Linked DNA regions of Homo sapiens: all the other regions are linked to region 1. The links are contacts of gene promoters, found by promoter capture Hi-C in human tissues and cell types (Jung and others, 2019). All regions are on one chromosome and are shown on one strand. The core of a region is centred on a gene start or on the middle of the fragment in contact, and the rest is flanking DNA. Distances in the headings are between cores, read along the strand shown. Region 1 holds the start of PIF1 (PIF1 5'-to-3' DNA helicase). Region 2 overlaps TRIP4 (thyroid hormone receptor interactor 4). Region 3 overlaps TRIP4 (thyroid hormone receptor interactor 4).

Region 1 (3,540 bases), core at 1,041-3,540:
TGAGCCGAGATCCTGCCACTGCACTCCGGCCTGGGCAACAGAGCACAGAGCCAGACGCTGTCTCCCAAAAAAAAAAAAAAAAAAAAAAAAAAAAAAGGAAAACTCTAACTTTCCACTCCTAAGTAAGGACAAGAACAAAAGGACCAAAGGCTACTCCCTTTGACGTTTCCCGCATGGCAGATGGGAGATTGGCAGATGGGAGATTGGCTGTCTGCAACAAATCATAGGAGTGTGGGTCCAGTCTTCGTTTGCAACTTTGTAACTTCACTCCAGCCTCTGAATGGTGGCTGAATGGTTGCTGTCTGCAACCAATCAGACTGATTATCGCTACCACTTCAGTTACATGAAGTAAGCGTAAAGTTCCCAATGGGAAACTTCTAGGGGGTATTTGAACCCAAGAAAATTCTGTATCTCGGGTCCCCTCCCACACTGTGGAGTGTACTTTCGTTTTTGTTTTTTGTTGTTGTTGTTTGTTTTGAGACAAGTTCTCGTTCTGTCGCTCAGGCTGGAGTGCAGCGGCACGATCCAGGCTCACTGTATCTTCTGCCTCCTGGATTCAAGTGATTCTCATGCCTCAGCCTCCCAAGCAGCTGGGATTACAGATGTCCACGACGACACCCGGCAATTTTTGTATTTTTAGTAGAGACAGGGTTTCACCATGTTGGTCAGGGTGGTCTGGAACTGCTGACCTCAAGTGATCCCCCCACCTCGGCCTCCCAAAGTGCTGGGATTACAGGCGTGAGCCACCGCGCCTAGCCGTACTTTCGTTTTCAAAAAATTCCTGCTTTTGTTCTTTTGTTGCTTCATTCTTTCTTTGCTTTGATGGGCATTTTGTCCAATTCTTTGTTCAAAACGCCAAGAACCTGGACAACTTTCAGTCATCACCCTCTACCGCTAACAGACTGGGAGCAGTGTGGTGTAGTAGCTAAGCCCCATGGAGTGATTAAGCGAGCAGGTAATCTGGGTTCAATGTTTGGTTTTGCTCTCCATATCAGCTATGTGACCTTCAGTAAAATCTCTGGAAGCCTTGCTTTTTTCTCATTTGAAAAATAAGGTCCGGGCTCATGCCTGTAATCCTAGGACTTCGGGAGGCCACGGTGGGTGGATCGTTTGACCTCCGGAGTTCGAGACAAGCCTGGGAAACATGGTGACATCCCGTCTATACGAAAAAAAAATTATATATATATATGTGTGTGTATATATATATATGTGTGTGTATATATATATGTGTGTGTATATATATGTGTGTGTATATATGTGTGTGTGTGTGTATATATATATATATATATATATATATATATATATATATATAAATTAGCTGGGTGTGCATCTGTAGTTCCAGCTACCTGGGGGGCTGAGGCGGGAGGATCACCAGAGCCCAGGAGGCGGAGGTTGCAGTGAGCCACGATCGCGCCACGGCAGAGGTTGCAGTGAGCAGAGATTGTGCCACTGCACTCCACTACAGCCTGGGCGACAGAGTGAGCCCTAAGAAGGAAAAAGGAAAGGAAAGGGCAATTTAATCCATGGTAGTTATCATTATCTGTAAAATGAGGTAGCCAGACTCACCTGTAAGATCCTTTCCAGCTATGTAATTCCAAGCTTCAATGAGATAATAAAGATGATTAAAAGTAAATTCTTTCAGCATCCTGTGCAAGAAGAGGGATACAATTTCCCTGAAGACAGAGACTCTACTCGCTTCCGCTGTACCCTCTGGCACGTGGCACAGGTCTCAGAGTTTCTCACTCATGGGCCTCAGGTGGGTGAGAGAGCCAAAGCGTAAAGTCCCTTACAAAGGCAGAGAAGGATGTAGAGTTGGGGGCGGGGGAGGGATTGGGCAGGCCTTGGGGTGGTCTGCCCAGAACTGGACAATGGTACTGTGAGTGTAAACAGGGGTGTGAGAGTCCAAAGGCAGATCTTCCCCAAGGCTAAGCCCAGCCTCTGTGTGCGGGCTAGAGGGGAGAGGGAGTGTGCTGGAAGGATGGTTCTGAAAATAAATCTTCGGAGTCGCGTAGGGTTTTCAGACCCGACACCACGCGCCGCCGGGTGGCTGCCGCAGCGGCGGCCTCCTCCCACCACGCCCAGCCGTCCACTGGATTTGGTATGCTCAGCCACCACCATAAACCTCCTTCCTCTAGCAGGCAATTGGTACAGCCCAAGCTCCTGGAGTAGAGACGCAAAGAAAGACACGCCCATTGTTACGCCCCTACCTCTGAGTGGCTGGAGAATTTAAAGATCCAGTCGGTGATTGGGTGATTTTCTGCCTCTAGCATTTGAAAAATTTCTAGTTTCGGAGCTTAGCCACAGGCCGGCTACGATCTGCTTGTTCATCTGAGTGTCGGCACAAGTGAGTGTCTGCCCGAACCCAGAGGTGGGGAGCAAAGAGCCTGATTTATCTAGGGGTTTCCGGCGGGAGGGTGCAAACAAATGGGTCAGCCTGAGGGAGCACGGCTTCTAGGGTCCCAGGGTCCCCCGCGATTTCCCTAGCCGAATATTTTCCACCTCGTCCCCACCTTGGTGGTGGGAAGCGCGAGGGCATGGGAATCACACTGACTTTGACTACTAGCCGCTGTGGCTTATGAAGGGCAAGTGAGTTTCCCTCTCTTAGCCTGTTTCCACGTCTGTACACGGGGAAGAGTGAGACCTGCCCGCTGCATATAAGCCAGTGAATGTACCTACAAGGCAGAAGTCGCTTATTACACGGCAGCCCTCTTTGCATCTCCCCACGGGCGATTCTCCTGCTTCCTGGGGAGAGTACTCTGAGGATTCATGTGCTCGCCCTGGGTCTCGGGGAAGGAGGATTCTTTCTGCGCAGGGACCCCTGTTCTAGTGAGGTCCTTGCAGGACACCTGAGGCTCCCTAATCCTCGGTGCCCATCCGCCGCTCTGGAAATTGTTGTGTAGCACGGTGTGTGTGTATATGTGTGTGTGTGTGTGTGTGTATATATATAGAAATTGTATATATATTGTGTGTATATATATATAGAAATTGGATATATAGAAATGGAAATTGTGTAGCAGGGTGCGTGTGTGTATATATATATATACATATATATACACACACACACACACATATATATAATGTATGCATATGTATGTATTTATATGTATGTATTTTTTTTTTAATTAGAGGGTGTCGCTATGTTGCCCAGGATGGTCTCGAGTTCCTGGGCTCAAGCGATCTTCCTTCTTCAGCCTCCCAAAGTGCTGGAATTACAAGCGCCCGCCACCACGCCCGGCTAATTTTTGTATTTTTAGTAGAGACGAGGTTTCACCATGTTGGCCAGGCTGGTCTCAGAACTCCTAACTTCAGGTGATCCGCCCACTTTAGCCTCCCAAAGTGCTGGGATTAAAGCGCGAGCCACTGCGCCCGGCCCAGGGCATATTCTAAGGGTGGATTTTCGGTTAGCCCAAAGCCCTTTCTCCGTCTTTGTGACCTCTTTGTGTTACCAGTGACAGTCCTCGTGATCTTGTGTAGCCTTGACCCTGCTCCCTGTCACGTCCTTTATAGCACCCATTACGTCCCCTATAGCACCCATTACGT
Region 2 (3,540 bases), core at 328-2,827, 410 kb after region 1:
CTGAAGAACGGAAAGCCTTCTTCTGTGAGGCTGCACCTGTGTGGTCAACCCACTACACAGAAAAACAAACATACAGTTCTATCTTATAAGGCAAGAATCTGGGGTAGGTAGACAAAATGATGCGAATGCTAATAATGAGGAAATCATATTGGGAACATTTTTCTTAGAAAAATATATCCCAGGCCGGGCATCGTGGCTCACGCCTGTAATCCCAGCACTTTGAGAGGCCAAGGCGGGTGGATCACTTGAGGTCAGGAGTTCTAGGCCAGTCTGGCTAACATGGTGAAACCCCATCTCTACTAAAACTACAAAAATTAGCTGGGCGTGGTGGCAGGTGCCTATAATCCCAGCTACTCATGAGGCAGAGGCAGGAGAATCATTTGAACCCAGGAGGTGGAGGTTGCAATGAGCCAAGATTGTGCCACTGCACTCCAGCCTGGGCAAGAGAGACTCTGTCTCAGAACAACAACAACAACAACAACAAATGAAAAATAATCCCATCTTTGTCTGCAATAAGGCCAAAAGGGTAGAGATAGTATACATTCAGTAGAAGTCTCAGGTATGATAACAAGGCCCATCTTAAAGAATAATTAGAATGTTGAAATCTCCATACAATGCTTACTAATTCCAGCAACAGCACAAATATCACACCAAAAGAGCTATAATTATTTCCAATTTATACTTAATGATCCATACTTGGTTCTGGATAATTTTTCAATAGAATTCTGTGAGCTAAATGAAAGTTCAACATTTTGGTCCACAATTCTGCATGTGCTTAGGGGCAGTGTCACATGCTGGCACCATGACAAAGCCAAACAGATGTTGTCAGGTCAGAGGCAGCAGTTCTGACTACTGGATGCATGAAATATTCTCTTACCCTGAAATGAAGAACTTGTCTCCTGAAAGAGAGGGTGGAGGACTACTAAAACAGGGCTCCCATCATATAAAAAGAATAGAGAATTATAAGGTACAGGTAATTACAGGAGAGTGAAGAGTCTTGGCAACAGTTCAGACAGAGAATGGCAAAGGTTAATGTTTCTTCCAGAGCAACGATACCATGTCCTCCAAAATTAAAATTTAAAAATAAAGGCAATTAGCATGATGATATTTGGGGTTATCTTTTTTAAAAAATTAATAATTTATAAAGCTGAACACAGTGAAGCATGCCTGTAGCTTCACTAGTTACTCAGGAGGTGAGGCAGGAGGATCACTTGAGCCCATAAGTTCAAGGCCAGCCTGGGCAACATGGTGAGGTCCTGTGTCTTTAAAAATAATAATAAGGGCCAGGCATGATGGCCGATGTCTGTAATCCCAGCACTTAAGGAGGCCAAGGCAGGAGGATCGCTTGAGCCCAGAAGTTTAAGACCAACCTGGGCAACAAGGCGAAACTCCTTCTCTACAAAAAAATATACAAATTAGTAAGGTATGATGGCACGTGGCTACTGTAGTCTGAGCCACTTGAGAAGCTGAGATGGGAGGATCTCTCGAGCCTGGGAGGTGGAGGCTGCAGTGAGCTATGATCATACCACTGCACTCTAGCCTGGATGACAGAACAATATCCTGTCTCAAAAATAAATAAAAATGAACATAAAATAACTTATAGGAAAAAACTTCTAGTGGTAGTCGAAACCCTAGGCATTTAACCCCTAAAGATTTCAGTTTTTCAAACTGGAAAAGGATGAAGTTGGACTAAATAAATTTCTAAGGATCTTTCTGCCATACAATTTTATGATTCTTGTCAATTGTGGCATATCTTAAAAATACACATTTTTACAAATTAAATACACATTTATTGAGTACTTAACTGTGAAAAGCACATTAACTAGGGAGACATAAAATATGAAAAAGATACGGTTCTTGCTTGCAAGGAACTTAAAGCCTAGTGGAAGACAGACACATAAATAACTATTCAAAACATAAGGCAGAATTGACTACATACTAAATAGGAGATAGAAGTTTTTACAGAGGACCAAAGAGGAAAAAGAATTGATCCATTATAGGGTAAATAAATAATTTCTTTAAAAAAAATTTTTTTTGAGACACTGTCTTGCTCTGTTGCCCAGGCTGGTCTTGACCTCCTGGCTTCAAGTGATCCTCCTTCCTCAGCCTCCCAAAATGCTAGGATTACAGACGTGAGCCACCACACCTGGCTGGAAATAAATAATTTCATAAAATGTTGGTATGTGAACAATCTTGAGGCCCAAATTATTTTTTCTATTTCTACTACAGCTGTTCCCTCTAATTACACAGCCACTTTCCTAAATTAATTCCTCATTATCTTTTGATAATACTATTAAAGAATCTGCCAGCAGGTCTCTTCATCTACATTTTTAGTCTTTATGATGATAATTATTTTTTTTTAGAGATGGGGTCTCACTGTGTCATCCAGGCTGGAGTGTGGTGGCTTAATCATAGCTCACTGCAGCCTCCAACTCCTGGTCTCAAGTGATCCTCCCACCTCAGCTTCCCAAGTATCTGGGACTATAGATGTGTATCACTACATCTCAGGCCCGGCTCCCACTTTTGGTCTTTAAATAACTCTCTACTGCTCCACTAGTGCTTTAATACTAATTTGGGCTGGCATCATCTTTCCATGGTGCTATTGCAATGACTACCTTGGCAATTTCTCAGCTTCTAATCTTACTTACTCTTCCCTCCAATCCATTCTCTACGTAGGCATGGAAGCCATGCCAATCTTCTGTTAAAATTCTTCCAGAACCCTTCTTTGCCTACTTTAGGGCAAAACCTAAACTCATTAGCATAAGACAAAAAATCTTTCATGATCAGGTGTTGCTTACTGTACTGGGTTGAGTAGTATCCCCCCAAAATCAATGTCCACGTTCATGGAATCTGTGAATACAACCTTATTTGGAAATAATCTTTACAGGTGTAATCAGTTTAAGATGAGGTTATATTAGATTATAGTAGGCCCTAAATCCAATGACTTGTATCCTTGTAAGAGGAGAGAGCACACAGTGACAGAGACACACATGGGGAAGAAGTCCATGTGAAGACAGAGGCAGAGATTAGAGTAATGAGCTACAAGGCAAAAGACACCTAGAGCCACCAGAATCTTAAAGAGGTAAGTAAGCATTCTCCTGTAAAGCCTTCAGAGGGAATGTAGTCTTTCCAACACCTTGATTTCGGGCTTTTAGCCTCCAGGTATGGGATAATAAATTTCTGTTGTTTAGGTCACCTAATTTGTGGTACTTTGTTACAGCAGCCCTAGGAAACTAATACACTTATCAGTCCATAACAATAGTTAATTACTTGTGATTCCCCAAACCTGCAATGCTCTCACGCTGCTGAGCCTTTGTATGTGTTGTACCTTCTGCCTGGAAATTCCCTCTCCAGATTTGTGTGCTTGGAAATTCCTATATCTATATCCCATGTTTTTGTGTACACATGCCTTTGTTCCTACAATTCATTCTGCCTGGAATTTTTTTCTCCACCATTCCCAAACATATATTTTTCAAAAATATTTGCTTTTTTTTTTTTGAGACAGGGTCTCACTCTGTCACCCAGGCTGGAGTGCAGTGG
Region 3 (3,540 bases), core at 691-3,190, 390 kb after region 1:
TTTTTTTGAGATGGGGTCTCACTCTGTCACTCAGGCTGGAGTGCACTGATGCAATCTGCTCACTGCAACCCTTGCCTCCCCGGCTCAAGGGATCCTCCCACCTCGGCCTCCTTAGTAGTTGGGTTTACAGGTGCATGCCACCATGCCCAGCTAATTTTTGTATTTTTTGTAGAGACGGGGTTTCACCAGGTTGCCCAGGCTCATCTCGAACTCCTGGGCTCAAGTGACCTGCCCACCTGAGCCACCCAAAGTGCTGGGATTACAGGCGTGAGCCACCATGCCTGGCCAATAATATCTTAAATTAGAAGATAAGTTGCCACTTGGTTTACATGGTAGACTAGATGACAAACCAAGGAGTCCTGAACAGATTCCAAGTAGATAGCGACACTACAGCATATTCTTTCTAGATCAAATAGACCACTTTCTCTAAGCCTTGGTTTACTTAAAGGTAAAATGAAGGCATCATATCCAGTAATTGATTCTACCTACATAAAGCCCCTTGCATCATTGTTCCTGTCTTGCCTCATTTCATTGGCATTATCCTAGAACATATTTTTCAAACATCTCTATCCTGGACTACAACTGTCTTCTCACTGGTCTTCCCATCTTCAGAATATCTCCACTCCATCTTCCACATTTCTGCCAAATTAGTTTTCCCTCAAGCAAGCCTCAGATCATGTTAATGCCTCAAAAAAACTTCAAAACACTCTTTCCCATCCCACAACTGATATGTCTATCATTTGATAGATTTGAATGCCTATCATTCAAAACTATCTATCATCTGAACAAACCTACCTTTTCATTTTTTTTTTTTTTTTCTTGAGACGGAGTTTCACTCTTGTTGCCCAGGCTGGAGTGCAATGGCACAATCTCGACTCACTGCAGCCTCTGCCTCCTGGGTTGAAGTGATTCTCCTGCCTCAGCCTCCTGAGTAGCTGGGATTACAGGCATGCGCCACCACGCCCAGCTAATTTTATATTTCTAGTAGAGACGGGGTTTTTCCATGTTGGTCTGGCTGGTCTCGAACTCCTAACCTCAGGTGATCCACCTGCCTCGGCCTTCCAAAGTGCTGGGATTACAGGTGTGAGCCACTGTGCCCAGCCCTTTTTAATTTTTTTTTAATTGGGCAGTCCCAGAAGCAGATTAGTTTCAGAGAGACTCCCCATTTCATTTTTTGTTTGCTGCTTATTCCTCTATACCAGGGGTATTCAATCTTTTGGCTTCTCTGGGCCACGCTGGAAGAATTGTCCTGGGCCACACATAAAATACACTAACGATAACTGATGAGCTTTAAAAAAAAAAATCACACACAAAAAATCTCATGTTTTAAGAAAGTTTACAAATTTGTGTTTGGTCTCATTCAAAGCCGTCCTGGACCACATGCATCCCACGGGCCACAGCTTGGACAAGCTTGCTCTATACTCACACTCTTCTTTCAATGAACTGGTTTGCCATTATTCTCCATAGAGGCCGATAACTTCACCTCTGTGCCTTTGCTCCCATTACTCCTCATCCTTGTAATATGCTTTTCTACCATCTCAGTAGAAACACTTGAACAGCAAAATCATAACTCTACCATTAACTGACATTACATAAGTTATTTTTTATTTATTTTTTGAGATGGAGTCTCGCACTGTTGCCTGGGCTGGAGTGCAATGGTGCGATCTCAGCTGACTGCAGCCTCTGCCTCCTGGGTTCATGTGATTCTCCTGCCTCAGCCTCCCAAGTGGCTGGGATTACAGGTGCACATCACCACGCCTGGCTAATTTTTTTTGTATTTTTAGTAGAGATGAGGTTTCATTATGTTGACCAGGCTGGTCTCGAACTCCTCACCCTGGACATTACACAAGTTATTTGAACTCTCTTGACACTTTAGGGATGATATTTCATCCCTAAAGGAGGGGAAATGACACCCTGCTTGGAATTATTATAAGGATTAGAAAATAGCATGATGAATGTGGCACATAATAACTGATCAAAAAGTGATAGATTTCATTACTATCCTTCAAAGCTAATTCAAAACCATCTTTTTAAATAAAGTCTTTTGGGATCCTTCCCAGCTAGAAGCAAGCTTTCCCTCCTTTATTTTTCTCAGAGACAGTCTTTACTTCTTTTAAGACAGTTAGGTTCACTTTTTATTTTATATTTGGTTTATATACATATCTACCTAGAAGTCTTTCAAACATCTGAGGACAGAATCTACAGTTGATTCATCCTTTTGTTTCTCTTAGTGTTTAGAACAGTGCCTGATTTATAATAGGCTCTCAAGTGTTTATTTATTTATTTATTTATTTATTTTTATTTATTTTTGAGATGGAGTCTTGCTCTGTTGCCCAGGCTGGAGTACAGTGGCGCAATCTTGGCTCACTACAACCTCCACCTCCCGGGTTCAAGAGATTCTCCTGCCTCAGCCTCCCGAGTAGCTGGGATTACAGGCGCATGCCACGACGCCCAGCTAATTTTTTGTATTTTTAGTAGAGAAGGGGTTTCACCATGTTAGCCAGGATAGTCTTGATCTCCTGACCTTGTGATCCGCCCATCTTGGCCTCCCAAGCTGCTGGGATTAAAGGTGTGAGTCACCACGCCCGGCTGTATTTATTTATTTATTTTTCAGACAGAGTCTTGCTCTGTCACCCAGGCTGGAGTGCAGTGGCGCAATCTCGGCTCACCGTAACCTCTGCCTCCCAGGATCAAGTGATTCTCCTGCCTCAGTGACCCAAGTAGCTGGGATTACAGGGGTGCGCCACCATGCCCAGCTAATTTTTGTATTTTTAGTAGAGATGGTCACCAAGCTGGTCAAGCTGGTCTCAAGAGCCTGACCTTGAGTGATCCGCCTGCATCGGTCTCCCAAAGCGGTGGGATTACAGGCGTAAACCACTGCGCCTGGCTCAAGTATTTATTAATGAATAAATATATATGAAAATCTTAAGAATTTCATGTTTATTTTCAGATGAAAACCAAAACACTAAATACATGGAAAAGTGGTAATATTTCCCATCTCTCTTCAGGATAAGTACAACAGAAAACATAATGCTCAGCCAGGCATGGTGGCTCATGCCTGTAATCCCAGCACTTTGGGAGGCCGAGGCAGGCGGATCACGAGGTCAAGAGTTCAAGACTAGCCTGGCCAACATGGTGAAACCCTGTCTCTACTAAAAATACAAAAATTAGCCGGGCGTGGTGGTGCGTACCTGCAATCCCAGCTACTCAGGAGGCTGAGGCAGGAGAATTGCTCGAACCTAGGAGGCAGAGGTTGCAGTGAGCCAAGATCACTCCACTGCACTCCACCACCCTGGACGACAGAGTACGACTCCGTCTCAAAAAAAAAAAAAAAAAAAAAAAAGAAAACACAATGCTCTTTGGATAAAAAAAATATATATATATATATAATATAAATGGTTTCTGAAACCATTTAAGTGGGTACTTAATACCCAGACTGCAAATAACCCTAAAGACAGTCTGTTTTGATCTAGAAACTCTAGTCAATGTTCCAGTTTTGTTTTTTTTTTTAATTTGAGATGGAGTCTCACGCTGTTGCCC

What was found. Contacts are between HindIII fragments. The study calls those that stand out against the background at their distance.
Region 2: a fragment that was not itself captured here is called in contact with the fragment with the promoter of PIF1 in region 1 in 1 of the 25 tissues and cell types used here (spleen).
Region 3: a fragment that was not itself captured here is called in contact with the fragment with the promoter of PIF1 in region 1 in 2 of the 25 tissues and cell types used here (aorta and dorsolateral prefrontal cortex).

Annotation. Positions count from the first base shown.
Region 1 is chr15:64,824,397-64,827,936 of GRCh38, reverse strand. PIF1 (PIF1 5'-to-3' DNA helicase) reads left to right here and starts at 2,290. Exons shown (of 13, transcript NM_001286496.2): 1 at 2,290-2,368. RefSeq lists enhancers at 2,028-2,157, 3,347-3,540. The HindIII fragment of the contact is 20,575 bases long and covers 1-3,540 here.
Region 2 is chr15:64,415,053-64,418,592 of GRCh38, reverse strand. TRIP4 (thyroid hormone receptor interactor 4) reads right to left here. Exons shown (of 13, transcript NM_016213.5): 9 at 1-52. Among named protein-coding and RNA genes, the nearest start is that of TRIP4, 29 kb to the right of the region's middle. The HindIII fragment of the contact is 9,009 bases long and covers 1-3,540 here.
Region 3 is chr15:64,431,681-64,435,220 of GRCh38, reverse strand. All of the region lies in intron 11 of TRIP4 (thyroid hormone receptor interactor 4), which reads right to left. Among named protein-coding and RNA genes, the nearest start is that of ZNF609, 27 kb to the left of the region's middle. The HindIII fragment of the contact is 3,066 bases long and covers 408-3,473 here.